Regions from separate parts of the Homo sapiens genome. Here region 1 is linked to region 2. The links are contacts of gene promoters, found by promoter capture Hi-C in blood cells and fetal thymus (Javierre and others, 2016). All regions are on one chromosome and are shown on one strand. The core of a region is centred on a gene start or on the middle of the fragment in contact, and the rest is flanking DNA. Distances in the headings are between cores, read along the strand shown. Region 1 overlaps CLIP2 (CAP-Gly domain containing linker protein 2). Region 2 holds the start of TMEM270 (transmembrane protein 270).

The links. The method cuts DNA at HindIII sites, captures the fragments that hold promoters and counts their contacts. A CHiCAGO score of 5 or more calls a contact.
Region 1: a fragment that was not itself captured here is called in contact with the fragment with the promoter of TMEM270 in region 2 in 2 of 17 cell types (M1 macrophages and M2 macrophages); the score reaches 9.1 in M1 macrophages.

The regions. Positions count from the first base shown.
Region 1 is chr7:74,376,288-74,383,658 of GRCh38, forward strand. It overlaps CLIP2 (CAP-Gly domain containing linker protein 2), which reads left to right. Exons shown (of 17, transcript NM_003388.5): 10 at 1-535; 11 at 4,519-4,576. Among named protein-coding and RNA genes, the nearest start is that of GTF2IRD1, 74 kb to the right of the region's middle. RefSeq lists enhancers at 4,013-4,513, 4,514-5,014. The HindIII fragment of the contact is 8,624 bases long and covers 1-7,150 here.
Region 2 is chr7:73,856,743-73,864,131 of GRCh38, forward strand. TMEM270 (transmembrane protein 270) reads left to right here and starts at 4,417. Exons shown (of 3, transcript NM_182504.4): 1 at 4,417-4,524. The coding sequence starts at 4,453. The HindIII fragment of the contact is 5,367 bases long and covers 4,251-7,389 here.

The sequences.
Region 1 (7,371 bases), core at 1,589-4,088, 520 kb after region 2:
GGACCTCAAAGCCACCCTGAACTCGGGCCCAGGCGCCCAGCAGAAGGAGATCGGCGAGCTGAAGGCAGTGATGGAGGGCATCAAGATGGAGCACCAGCTGGAGCTGGGTAACTTGCAGGCCAAGCATGACCTGGAGACCGCCATGCACGTGAAGGAGAAGGAGGCCCTGCGAGAGAAGCTGCAGGAGGCCCAGGAGGAGCTGGCTGGGCTGCAGCGGCACTGGCGGGCCCAGCTGGAGGTGCAAGCCAGCCAGCACCGGCTGGAGCTGCAGGAGGCCCAGGACCAGCGCCGGGATGCCGAGCTGCGTGTGCACGAGCTGGAAAAACTGGACGTGGAGTACCGGGGCCAGGCGCAGGCTATCGAGTTCCTCAAGGAGCAGATCTCGCTGGCCGAGAAGAAGATGTTGGACTACGAGCGGCTGCAGCGGGCAGAAGCCCAGGGCAAACAGGAGGTCGAGAGTTTGCGGGAGAAGCTCCTGGTGGCTGAGAACAGACTCCAGGCGGTCGAGGCCCTGTGCTCCTCCCAGCACACCCACGTAGGCGCCTGCCCCTCCTGCTGGGGCGGGAGGGTCGGGCTGGGGAGGGCTTGGCCTTTTGCTGACCTCTGTTCTGCAGCCCAGGAAGCATTTCCCTTGTCCCCGAGAGCATGCCTGGGGCAGTCAAGGAAGGGGTCACCTGGCTTAGAGGAGGAGGAGCTCCTTGGCCCTCTGTTAGAGGGGCAGTGCGCCCTGGTGACCAGGGAGAACCGAAGCTGGTCTGAGCTGACCTGGCTGCATCCCCCCGCACAGAGCAGACCTGGAGAGATGGGACCTCCGTGCAGAGGACGGGCTTTGATTTACCCATACATGTCTTAGGGTGCAGGGCTCCTAGGACCCGGGACCTCAGACCCTGTGCCCTGGGGCTGGCACAGACCTGAAGGCAAGCTCTGCCTATCCCCCTGGGGGCACCCATCTCCAACTTAGAAGCTCACCTGGGGAATCAGCGGCAGCCCCCTTTCTGCCAGTCCTAATGAGACTTTAGCAACGGTGCCAACGAGTACTTCCCCAGAATGTGGGAGTTCCCGGAGTGGGGTCTGGAAGGCTAGAGGGGGTGGCCCTAAAGAGGTCGCTGTCACCAATGTCAATTTTGCTCCAAATCTAGAAATTCCTTAAGCATCTACCCCTTCTTCCTTCAGCTGAACCCATCCTCCCAGCCCCTCTGAGGAGGTCAACACCCAGGTGGGCTGTGCCCACTCCACCAGGGCCAGGAAGGGCCTTTTGAGTGGCTCTGGGTACCACGTCTTATGCCAGGCCCTATGTGACTCCATTTCACCTTAACATCCTTAGATTGATACTGGCTCCATTTCACAGGTGAGCAAACCAAGACTTTCCCAGGTCCACAGCCTCTCAGTGGCAGAGATGTTCAACCCCATTCCCTGTGGGGCTGACAGAGAGTGCCCAAGACAACAGGAATTAATTCATAGGAGGGATGGCTAGCAACGGACTCTTGCCTGTATACAAATTGTACTCAGAGATTCTTGAGTTTCCAGTTCCCCCACATACATTTTTTTTTTTTTTGAGATGGAGTTTTGCTCTTGTTGCCCAGGCTGGAGTGCAGTGGTGGGATCTCGGCTCACTGCAACCTCCGCCTCCCAGGTTCAAGCAATTCTCCTGTATCAGCCTCCCAAGTAGCTGCAATTACAGGCATGCACCACCACGCCCAGCTAATTCTTATATTTTTAGTAGAGGTGGGGTTTCGCCAGGTAGTCCAGGCTGGTCTCAAACTCCTGACTTCAGGTGATCTGCCCGCCTCGGCCTCCCAAAGTGCTGGGATTACAGGCGTGAGGCACCATCCCTGGCCTTTTTTTTGGTTTTGTTTTTGAGACAGGGTCTTGTTCTGTCTCCCAGGCTGGAGTGCAGTGGCATGATCATGGCTCACTACAGTCTCAACCTCCCAGGCTTGAGCGAGCCTCCCACTTCAGCCTTCCAAGTCGCCAGGACCACAGGTGTGCCCCACCACACCTGGCTAATTTTTATAGTTTTTGTAGAGATGGGGTTTCCTCATGTTGCCCAGGCTGGTCTCAAACTCCTGGGCTCAAGCTGTCTGCCCGCCTTTGCCTCCCAAAGTGCTGGGATTACAGGGAGTAGGTACTGCACCTGACCACCCTCATGTATATTCAAACCAGAATTTAGGGGTGGGTGTGGTGGCTCACACCTATAATTCCAGCATTTCGAGAGGCTGAGGCAGGAGGATTGCTTCAGGCCAGGAGTTTGAGACCAGCCTGGACAACATAGTTAGACCCCATCTCTACAAAAATAAAAAATTAGCCGAGTACAGTGGTAGTGTACCTGTAGTCCCCAGCTACGCTGGAGGCTGAGGCAAGAGGATCACTTGAGCCCAGGTGTTTGAGGCTGCAGTGAGCTATGATTGCACCACTGCACTCCAGCCTGAGTGACAGTGTGAGGCTGTGACTCAAGAAAATACACAAACCAAAAAAACCCGAGAATTTAGCATGTGGGCAGTAAGTTCTCAGGACTAATGAATCCAGGGGGCTTTTTTTGTCTAAAAGGAAATCTTTTTGCATCATGCCTTGAGGTCCCTTGTAATGGCCTTCCTGCCCCTTCTCCCAGGAAGGGATTTTGTTTTTTAGCAAGTGCTCTTCCAGGATCCTGGGCTGAAAGAAAAGGAAGAAACCCAAATTAGCTTACGTGCACATGGCCTGATTAGCTGTTCAGGGCAGGCAGAAACAGCCTGCAACTCAGGAACTGAATTCCCTGAGCGGGGAGGTTTGAGGTTGCTGTGGTTCCACAGAGCATGGGGGACAGAGGCCTGAGGATGCCTCCCCCAGTCCCTGCCCCTCATTCACAGGTGCCCTTGGACCAAGAAGTAGTAGTGGCCCCAGAAAGCCCATCTCCTGGCCGGGCGCGGTGGCTCACACCTGTAATCCCAGCTACTCAGGAGGCTGAGGCACAAGGATTACTTGAACCCGGGACGTGGAGGTTGCAGTGAGCCAAGATCGTGCCACTGCACTCCGGCCTGGGCAACAGAGGGAGACTCCGTCTGGAAAAAAAAAAAAAAGCCCATCTCTTGATTTTCTGTATACACTGGGGCTTAGTCTAAACGCATATGTCCCCATGTTCAGAGGTTTAGGCCTAAGCACAACTGGACTTTTGGTCTCAGGTAGTAAATATGGGAATTTTAAAAATTATTTTAGTGGCCAGGTGCTGTGGCTCACACCTGTAATCCCAGCACTTTGGGATGCCAAGGCAGGTGGATCACCTGAGGTCAGGAGTTTGAGACCAGCCTGGCCAACATGGTGAAAACCCGTCTCTACTAAAAATACAAAAAATTAGCCGGGCATGGTGGCGGGCGCCTGTAGTCCCAGCTACTCGGGAGGCTGAGGCAGGAGAATCGCTTCAGAGTCCTGGAGGCAGAGGTTGCAGTGAGCCGAGATCACGCCACTGCACTCCAGCCTGGGCGACGGAGTGAGACTCCATCTCAAAAAATAATAATAAAAAAACCCCAAAATTAGCTGGGCGTGGTGGTGGGCACCTGTAATCCCAGCTACTCGCTCGGGAGGCCGAGGCAGGAGAATCGCTTGAACCCGGGAGGTGGAGGTTGCAGTGAGCTGAGATTGAGCCATTGCACTCTAGCCTGGATATCAGGGCGAGACTCCTTCTCAAAAAAAAAGAAAAAGAAAAATTTAGTGTGAGCCTCATTACTGCATCGTATATAAATTATGATCCAAGGGGCTTAGTTCATTACAACTAATTGAGACTCAAATGGGACTTGGGATGTATGAACAGAAGTATGAGGGGCAGGATGATAGAGGTGACTGCCTACTCAGCTCTGTGCTTCCCTGATCTGCAGTGCCAGACTCTGGCTGGCTCGGAGGACAGCCAGCCTGGGCAGGAGACTGGAAACTCCTGCCAAGAGTGGCAGGGAGCCTATTGGTTGTGTTTTGACTTTTGTCATAGTGATGTGTGCCAGGCTGATTTTTTTTTTTAATAGGTCTTTTCTTCTTTGGCCTCTGGGTTTATTATTAAAAAGAAATGTTGGAGAGAAAGAAGCTAGCATTTAATGAAGTCCCTCCAGGAGGTGGCCCCAAGCACGCTGTGCACACACTAACCCAAAGCAGCCAATATTTGTTTGATGGATGGGAAACTGAGGCCAGAAGTCTTGTCTCTGGGAGACAGAGAAACAAATTCCCAGGACAAATTTCTGTAGGCATTGCAGGGAAGGAGCCATCTGTTTAATATAATAAACATTTTCAACAAAGGAAGGGTAGGAGGTATTCATGTATAAGCTGCACAGGCGGCCTTCAGCAGAGCTGGGTGCAGAATGGGGGTCCTCTGTTGTCAGGGAGGTCCGACTGAGGACGTCTGCACTCCCTGCCACCGCAGCAAGTCCCTGAGTCCGTCACTGAGGTCCCCCTTTGTAGGAGTAGGGTGTGCAAACTGCAGGTGTGCTTGCTGGGCTGGCTGGGGCTGGGGCCAAGGGGCAGAGGTGAGCATCCCCCTTACAGGGGCTCTTTTTGCAGATGATTGAGTCGAATGACATTTCAGAGGAGACGATCAGGACGAAGGAAACTGTGGAGGGTGAGTGGCCACCAGGCCGGGCGGGACTCTGGGCTCTGGGAAGAGGCTGGCTGGCTCTGCCTTCCTGCTGGGTCACATTTTGGTTTGCATCATCTGCCATTTGGTAAGAGTCACCTCCTGTGTGCTGTGAGCTATGTACTCCTGCAAGGGAGGAGGCCAGTTTACGGAGGGATAGGCATTGCACCAGCCTTCCAAGTTGCTGTCTTTTTTTTCTTTTTCTTTTGAAACAGATTTAACGGAATAGTAAACTTAATGGAATATCAAACCTTATTATTTGTTTGGTTTATATTTTATTTTTATTTATTTATTTAGTTTATACTTTACTTTTATTTATTTATTTATTTTAGACGGAGTTTCGCTCTGTCGCCAGGCTGGAGTACAGTGGTGTGATCTCAGCTCACTGCAACCTCCAACTCCCTGGTTCAAGCGATTCTCCTGCCTCAGCCTCCCGAGTAGCTGGGATTACAGGCATGCACCACCATGCCCAGCTAATTTTTGTATTTTTAGTAGAGACGGGGTTTCACCATGTTGACCAGGGTGGTCTCGATCTCCTGACTGCGTGATCCGCCCGCCTTGGCCTCCCGAAGTGTTGGGATTACAGGCATGAGCCACCGTGCCTAGCTGGTTTAAACTTTAAAAACAGGTCTAAACTTCAAATGGTTCAAAGGGCATATGGCAAACTAACTCTTCACTGTTCTCTATTCTTCCCTCCCTGAAGGCGCAGTGTTAGCTTCTTTATATCCCCTTTCCAGAAATATTTTGTGCAGGTACGAGCAAGCAAGTGACACAAATGGTACCATATCTTCCATTCTTTCAGCTCCTTCATTTATTCCATTTAACAATGTATCTTGGAGAGGGTTCCTTATCAGTAGTACATTCTTTTACAGGGTACAGAATATTCCATTGTGTGGAGGTACCATTGTGTATTTAGCTGGTTTCCGATAACAATCACAGATTGTTTCCAGTCTTGGTCAGTTACAAAGATGGTAGACTGTTTCCAGTCTTGGTCAATTACAAACACCACTGTAGAAAATTACCTTGACTTCCATTGGGCTCAACCAATTTTAATTCCCACCAGCTGTGGTTGAAAACCTGTTTCCCCTCAAACTCCCATCAACAAAACGTTTGATCAGACTTTGTGATCTTTGCCAATCTGAAAGGTAAAAGGTGTAACTTCAACTCACCTTTCTCTTATGTGGATGAAGTTAAGAGGTATTTCTATTTGCATTTTTTTTTTGAGACGGAGTTTCACCCTTGTTGCCCAGGCTGGAGTGCAATGATGCGATCTCAGTTCACTGCAACCTCCGCCTCCCAGGTTCAAGCAATTCTCCTGCCTCAGCCTCCTGAGTAGCTGGGATTACAGGCATGCACCACCACGCCTGGCTAATTTTTGTATTTTTTTTTTTAGTAGAGACGGGGTTTCTCCATGTTGGGGCTGGTCTTTTTTTTTTTTTTTTTTAAGACAGAGTCTCACTCTGTTGCCCAGGCTGGAGTGCAGTGGCACGATCTCAGCTCACCACAACCTCCACCTCCCAGGTTCAAGCAATTCTCCTGCCTCAGCCTCCTGAGTAGCTGGGACTACACGTGCATGCCACCATGCCCTGCTAATTTTTTTTTTTTTTTTTTTTTTAGTAGAGATGGAGTTTCACTATGTTGGCCAGGCTGGTCTCAAACTCCTGACCTCATGATCCTCCCGCCTTGGTCTCCCAAAGTGCTGGGATTACAGGCATGAGCCACCATGCCCGGCTTCTATTTGCATTTCTATTTGTGTCTTTTGACCATTTTTTTCTGATTGGGTTATTGATCTTTTTGCTGATTTTTAGAAGCTCTTTATGTATGACATTGCAGACATTTTCCCCACTTTGTCATTTGCCTTTTTACTTTTTTCTTATGGTGGTGTTGGCCATGCAGATATTTAAAAAATCAGGCCAGGTATGGTGGCTCACACTTGTAATCCCAGCACTTTGGGAGGCTGAGTTAGGAGTATTGCTTGAGCCCAGGAGTTCAAGACCAGCCTGGGCAACATAGTGAGACCCTGTCTCTACAAAAAATACCCCCCTCCAAAAATTAGCCAGGTATGGTGGCATGCAGCTATAGTCCCAGATACTTGGGAAGGTGAGGCGGGAGGATCTCTTGAGCCCAGGAAGTGGAGGCTGCAGTGAGCTACGATCATGCCACTGCACTCCAGCCTGAGCAATAGAGTGAGACCCTGTCACCAAAAAAAAAAAAAAAAAAAAATCAATTCTTTTTTAGTTTAAAAAATGTATCCAGTGGTTTCTTCTGGTACTTTTCTGTCCTATTTTCTATGCTGAAATCTCTGATCCATCTAGAATTCATCCTTATATAAGTGTGAGATAAGGATCCATTTTTATTTTTTCCCAAAGGAATACCCACTTATCCCAACACTATTTTTGAAAATGGTCATTTTCTCCCCCCAACCCTCATTGATTGGAATTACTAACCTTATTGTCCTTAAATTCACTTATGTAATTGACTCTATTTCTGGACTTTTGTTCTATTCCAATGACTTGTTATTCTCTTCATGTGCCAATTCTATAATGTTTTAATTAGTCAAGCTTTGTCTATGTTGTAATTTCTGGCATGGCTTGTTCTTCTCTGCTTTATCAAAATTCTCTTGGCTATTGTTTAAAAACTAAGCTGAAATTAACATAAAATAGACATGTGCAGGTTTGTTATAAAATTAACAAATGAAAAAAATTAACATAACATACAATCAGCCATTTTAAAGCAAACACTTCAATGGCATTTAGCGCAGTCAACAATGTAGTACACCC
Region 2 (7,389 bases), core at 3,167-5,666:
AGTGCTGGGATTACAGGCATTAGCCACTGTGCCCAGCCAGCTTTCATTTCTTAATTCAACAAATTTACACAGAGCTCCTTCTGTGCCCCTGGCACCGTTCTAGGCATGGGATGCAGCAGTGAGGCAGGTTCGTGGCCCTTGCCTTCAGAAGTGGCTTGGCAGGAAGGGGAGAAGGCAGGAAGATGAGAAGGTGATCCCGGGGTTTCTGGCTTGTGGACCTGCGTGGTTGGGACTGCTCTCCCTCAGTTAGCTTAGGGGACATCCTGAGTCGGTTTCACACCCCAGTGGAGGCTCCTGACCTCTGACACTAGGTATCCAGGCTTCTGTGGGCACCTGTTCCTGTGGTCTGGGCAGCCACAGAGCCACAAAGAGCCCTGGCTGGAGTCTAGCTTGGGGACTAAGACCAGGGCTTTGGTGGGGGCAGGGAAGGGCAGGTGACTAGAGCTGGGACTGAGACATGTGCCTAGCATTCCCATGGGGCTGCCCATAGGGGCTGTGGGACAGAGTGAGGTCTCTTCTGCTCTAGCTCCCACACTGACCACGGGGAGTGTGGTCAGTATGAGGCTGGAGATATCAGCTCAGCCTCTGTGGCAGTGGAGTTCTGGGGACAGGGATACCAGGTGATGGTGGTGGCAAACCAAAGAGAGGAGGGAAAACAAACTGCAAATCCCAGTCTCAGCCACCTCTCTTTCTTTTCTTTTCTTTTCTCCCTCCCTCCCTCCTTCCTTCCTTCCTTCCTTCCTTCCTTCCTTCCTTCCTTCCTTCCCTTCTTTTTTTTTTTTGAGATGGAGTCTTGCTCTGTCACCCAGGCTGGAGTGCAGTTGCCTGATCTCGGCTTACTGCAACCTCTGCCTCCCGGGTTCAAGAGATTCTCTTGCCTCAGCCTCCTGAGTAGCTGGGATTACAGGGATGCACCACTACACCCAGCTAATTTTTATATTTTTGGTAGAGACCAGGTTTCATCATGCTGCCCAGGCTGGTCTTGAACTCCTGGCCTCAAGTGATCCACCTGCTTTGGCCTCTGAAAGTGCTAGGATTACAGGAGTGAGCCACTGCACCCGGCTCAGCCACCACCTTCTGACCCCCAGCAATCCCTTTGCCTCTCTCCCCAAACCTACTCCTTCTCTTCCCCGCCCCCACTTGGTGGGCAGCGCTACTTTCTGCCTTTCACTCAAGTCTTCTGGGTTGGGGGTATCCCTGACCCCTGTCTCGCTTTACTTCTTTTCCTGTTCATTCCTCTGTTGGGATGCCTCTGTCTATGTGTCTTTCACATTTCTGTATGTCTTGTGAGTGAGGCACTAATGGATTGCCTTTTGCCCTGGACTTTCTTTTCTAGGATATCTGTATATCAGACAACCTTGGAAGACATAATGTCTCCTTCTGGGGCAAAAGGCAGCCCTGCTTACTGCACATTAGAAAAGATTTGGGTTTCCTGGCCAGGCGCGGTGACTCATGCCTGTAATCCCAGCACTTTGGGAGGCGCTGGCAGGCGGATCACCTGAGGTCAGGAGTTCGAGACCAGCCTGGCCAATATGGTGAAACCCCATCCCTACTAAAAATACAAAAATTAGCTGGGCTTGGTGGTGCGAGCCTGTAATCCCAGCTACTCGGGAGGCTGAGGCAGGAGAATTGCTTGAACCTGGGAGGCGGAAGTTGCGGCGAGTGGAGATGGTGCCACTGCACTCCAGCCTGGGCGACAGAGTGAGACTCCATCTCAAAAAAAGAAAAAAAGAAGGCTGGGCGAGGTGGCTCCCACCTGTAATCCCAGCACTTTGGGAGGCGCTGGCGGGTGCATCACCTGAGGTTAGGAGTCTGAGACCAGCCTGGCCAAGCTGGAGAAACCCTGTCTCTACTAAAAATACAAAAAAGTAGCCGGGTATGGTGGTAGGCGCCTATAATCCCAGCTACTTGGGAGGCTGAGGCAGGAGAATTGCTTGAACCCGGGAAGTGGAGGTTGCAGTGAGCCGAGATTGTACCACTGCACTGGGTGACAGAGCAAGACTCCATCTCAAAAAAAAAAAAAAAAAAAAAAAAAGAAAAGAAAAGATTTGGGTTCCCTAAACTCAAGCCACCTCTCCTGTAACACACCCACCTCAGATACTGCCAGGCATCATCTGGCCCTTGTCATATCACCCTGTGGGATTTGGAGCTCAAGGAATGAATGGAAAATGCTTATAACCTAGTTCACTGCTATTGCCATGAGTAACATTGTCTTTGATCTCTGACCTGGGAGTCTCATGTCTTCCTGTGGCAGCTGTGGAGCTCTGGTTGGCTAACTTGTTAGCATGAAATTGGGCAACGTCTCAGATCATCGTGGGTCTTGACATCCTCCAATTCTATCTGTTGTACCTGCTACAGATTTCTGGCATCTGTTGTCTCCATTTCCAGGGCCTCAGCCCTGGTCAAGGCTCCCATCATCACATGTCTAGGGGTTTATTTGTTCTGGATTCCTTTTTGCTGTCCCTACCCCAGAGTCCTCTGCCTTAGTTTCCATGCACACTGCTTGAGCCGCCTGCTGCAAGACCCCCACCCGACCATCTGCTGGAGGGCTTTCTCTGGTGTTTGTGCTGGTAAGATTGGAGGTTCAGCGGGAGTTAATGTCCAACAGGAAGCAGACAGGTCATGGAAGATAAATACCCCAGTATTCATGCTCCTTGGGTGGGGTGACTCTGAGGTGCGTTCTGCACCATTTTCCAGGGGATTTTGGGGATCAGCCCCGGTTGTCTGAACTCAAACCCTGCTCATGAACTCATCTGTCCTTGCCTCTCTTTCTTTTCTTTCTCTTTCTTTTCTTTCCTTCCTTCCTTTTTCTTTCTTTCTTTCTTTTTCTTTCTCTCTTTTTCTTTCTTTTCTTTCTCTTTCTTTCTTTCCTTCTTTTTCTTTCTCTTTCTTTCTTTTTCTTTCTTTCTTCTTTCTTTCTTTCTCTCTCTCTCTCTCTCCCCCTCCCCTCCCCTCCCCTCCCCTTCCCTCTTTTTATCACAGAGTCTCACTCTCTTGCCCAGGCTGGAGTACAGTGGCATGATCTCAGCTCACTGCAACCTCTGCCTTCTGGGTTCAAGCAATTCTCCTGCCTCAGCCTCCTGAGCAGCTGAGATTATAGGTGCACGCCACCATGCCAGGCCAATTTTTTTTTTTTTTTGTATTTTTAGTAGAGACGGGGTTTCACCATGTTGGTCAGGCTGGTCTCTGCTGAGACCAGCTTGGCTGGGGAGACCCTAACCCAGCAGCACTAGAGGAATTAAACACACACACACACACACACACACACACACACACACACAGAGAAATAAAGAGGTGTGAAGTGGGAAATCAGGGGGTCTCACAGCCTTCAGAGCTGAGAGCCTCAAACGGAGATTTACCCACGTATTTATTAACAGCAAGCCAGTCATTAGCATTGTTTCTATAGATATTAGATTAACTATAGATTAGATTAGATTCCCATAGAAGTATCCCTTATGGGAAACAAAGGGATTGGGCCCAAATAAAGGGATGTGTTTGGCTAGTTATCTGCAGCAGGAGCATGTCCTTAAGGCACAGATCACTCATGCTCTTGTTTGTGGTTTAAGAACGCCTTTAAGCAGTTTTCCGCCCTGGGTGGGCCAGGTGTTCCTTGCCCTCATTCCGGTAAACCCACAACCTTCCACCGTGGGTGTCATGGCCATCACGAACATGTCACAGTGCTGCAGAGATTTTGTTTATGGCCAGTTTTGGGGCCAGTTTATGGCCAGATTTTGGGGGCCTGTTCCCAACAGGTCTCAAACTCCTGACCTCGTGATCTGCCTGCCTCGGCCTTCCAAAGTGCTGGGATTACAGGTGTGAGCCACTGTGCCTGGCCCCTTGCCTCACTTTCTGACTTCCTATGGATGCTTGCAGGGCCCACTCCCCAAATAAACTCATCACCCTTCAATTTTTTTTCTTTGTTTAGAGATAGGGTCTTGCTCTGTCACCCAGGCTTGAGTGATCCTGGCTCACTGCAACTTCTATCTCCTGGGCTCAAGCGATTCTCCCACTTTAGACTCCTGAGTAGTTGGGACTACAGGTGTGCATGACCAAGGCTGGTTAATTTTTTTCTTTTTTTGTTTTTTTGTAAGACAGGGTCTTGCTATGTTGCCCATGCTGGTCTCAAACTCCTGGCCTCAAGCGATCCTCCTACCTTGGCCTCCCAAAGCATTGGGAATCCAGGCATGAACCCCGTTCCTAGGCGGCACTTGATTCCTGTTCCAAGATCTGGGGAAATCCGACCCGAAGGAAGCTTTGCTCTAAGACCTCCTTGGCCGTGTTGGGCTCAGACGTGGACTGAGGTTTCAGAGGAAGCAGTGGAGCGGCAGGAGCCAGGTAAAGGCAGTGGGTCACTGGCGGCAACCGGGTCCCCATGGTAACTTGGTCCCCACCCTGTGGCATCTGTGAGGTCACCCTGCTTCTCCCAGCTGGAGTAGGTGGGGGAGGCCAGACATGGAGGCCCTTCCTCCAGTCAGATCCAGCCTTTTGGGGATCCTGTTGCAGGTTACGAGGCTCTCAGTGCTGGTGAGTGGGGGCTGGGGGTAAGTGGGGTGGGGACCACACACCAGGCCCTTCACAGAGCCACCTCAGAGCTGCCGGGCCCAAGCCCTGCCTGTCCCATCCAGTGGAACGAGGTGGCTGCCTGCCTTCCAGAATAATCTGACATCTCCCAGAAGCCCCACTCCAAACTACAGTGCTGACATTTTCTTTTCTTTTCTTTATTTAGAGACAGGGTCTCGCTCTGTCGCCCAGCCTGGAGCGCAGTGGTGCCGGCTCAGCTCGTTGCAGCCTCCAACTCCCGGTCTCAAGCAATCCTCCCCCCTCAGCCTCCAAGTAGCCGGGACTATAGGTGTGCACCACCACGCCTGACTAATTTTTGTATTTTGTAGAGATGGTGTCTCACTACGTTGCCCAGGCGGGTCTCCAACTCTTGGCCTCACATGATCCTCCTACCTCAGCTTCCTGAGGTGCTGGGATTATAGGTGTGAGCCACCGCACCTGGCAGCATTTTCTCTATTGAGGGTCACTCCTATGGGTGAATCATTGTTTTTCCCATTCATTTTTTCTTTTTTTTGAGACAGAGTCTCGCTCTGTTGCCCAGGCTGGAGTGCAGTGGTGCGATCTCGGCTCACTGCAACCTCTGCCTCCTGGGTTCAAGCAGTTCTTCTGCCTCAGCCTCCCAAGTAGCTGGGACTACAGGCACGTGCCATCATCCCTGGCTAATTTTTTTTTTTTTTTGTATTTTTAGTAGAGACCCTGTTAGCCAGGATGGTCTCGATCTCCTGACCTTGTGATCTGCCCGCCTCAGCTCCCCAAAGTGCTGGGATTACAGACATAAGCCACTGCGCCTGGCTCATTCATCTCTCTCTCTTTTTTTTTTTTTCAGATGCAGTCTTGCCCTGTCGCGCAGGCTGCAGTGTAATGGTGCGATCTCGGCTCACTGCAACTTCCACCTCCAGGTTCAAGCAATTCTCCTGCCTCAGCCTTCCAAGTAGCTGGGATTACAGGCGTGCGCCACCACGCCCAGCTAATTTTTTGTATCTTTAGTAGAGACAGGGTTTCACCGCATTGGCCAGGCTGGTCTCAAACTCCTGACCTCGTAATCCACCCACCTCGGCCTCCCAAAGTTCTGGGATTACAGGTGTGAGCCACCGCACCTGGCCCATTCATCTCTTTTAAACATACACATGCTTGTGGTCGGGGTCACAACTCAGTCACACTTAGGAGGCCGAGGTGGGAGTATAGATTGAGCCTGGGAGGCCAAGGCTGCAGTCAGCCAAGATCATATAACAGGGGGCAGTTGAGAAAGACAGACACCATTAGATTTGCATCTTGGGACCGGGAGCTGTGGCTCACACCTGTAATCCCAGCACTTTGGGAGGCCGAGGCGGGCAGATCACCTGAGGTCAGGAGTTCCAGACCAGCCTGACTAACATGAAGAAACCTTGTCTCTACTAAAAATACAAAATTAGCCACGCGTGGTGGTGCATGCCTGTAATCCCAGCTACTCAAGAGGCTGAGGCAGGAGAATCGCTTGAACCTGGGAGGCGGAGGTTGCGGTGAGCCGAGATCCCACCATTGCACTCCAGCCTGGGCAACCCTGGGCAACAAGAGCAAAACCCTGTCTCAGAAAAAAAAAAAAAAAAAAAAAAAAAAAGATTTGCATCTTGGCTGTTTTACCCTCTAGCTGTGTGAATTTGGGCAAATCACTTCACCACTCTGAGCCCGTTTCCTCTCCTATAGAAATGATCTTGTGGGATCATGTGGGATATCATAGGTTTCCCTCCTCCCTGGTCTCAGCACCATAACCTGGGAGGTCCTATTTCCTAGCTCTACCCTAATTCTTCTCCCTGCTGGACCCTTTGGTCTCAGCATAGCTCCACCCTCCACGTCCCAAGCTCTGCAAATCCAGCCCGTGAGTGGGGGGTCTTGCAGCCAATCTCAGATGGTGGGGCCTGTGGACACGGGGATGGGGGGTCCAGGTGGGTGGATTGGTGTCACTCAAGGGCTGGGGGCTTTCCAGCTCTGATGAAGGGTCTCCAGGACTCAAGAACAGCTTTCCCCCACCTCACCCCAGTCCTGCAGCTTCATCTCAGTGAATGGGAGACACCGTTGTCCAACTCACCACCCAGATCAGAAATCTGGAATTCTTTTTTTTTTTTTTTGAGATGGAGTCTCACTCTGTTACCCAGGCTGGAGTGCAGTGGCACGATCTGGGCAAACTGCAACCTCCGCCTCCTGGGTTCAAGCAATTCTCCTGCCTCAGCCTCCCGAGTAGCTGGGATTACAGGCATGCACCATCATGCCCAGCTAATTTTTGTATTTTTAGTAGAGATGGGGTTTCACCAGGTTGACCAGGCTGGTCTCGAAATCTTGACCTCAGGTGATCCGTCTGCTTCGGCCTCCCAGAGTGCTGGGATTACAGGTGTGAGCCACCATGTCCGGCTGGAAATCTGGAAGTCTTTCTGGATCTCTCTCCTTCACCCTTCTCATTAGGTCTGTCGTGAATTATGTGACCCCTGCCCCATGTCTCTCACGCCTCCCTGCCCCTAATGGCATTGTCCTTTGCCCCAGCAGCCCTCCTGATGCCAGGGGACAACTGGTACAGAGGCAAAGCCCAGCTACTTGGAAGAAGACAAGTGACCTGGGTTCAAAGCCCACAGGATTGGGGTGGGGGATCGTAACATGGTAATAATAGCCATGAAACCTCCTTCAGTCTGGAGTATTGTAAATAATCATTTAAATCCAATGGAGGCCAGGTATAGTGGCTCATGCCTGCAATCCCAGCACTTTGGGAGGCTGAGGCAGGAGGATTGCTTGAGGCCAGGAGTTCGAAACCAGCCTGGATAACATAGCAAGACCCCGCCTCTACAAAAAAAAAAAAAAAAA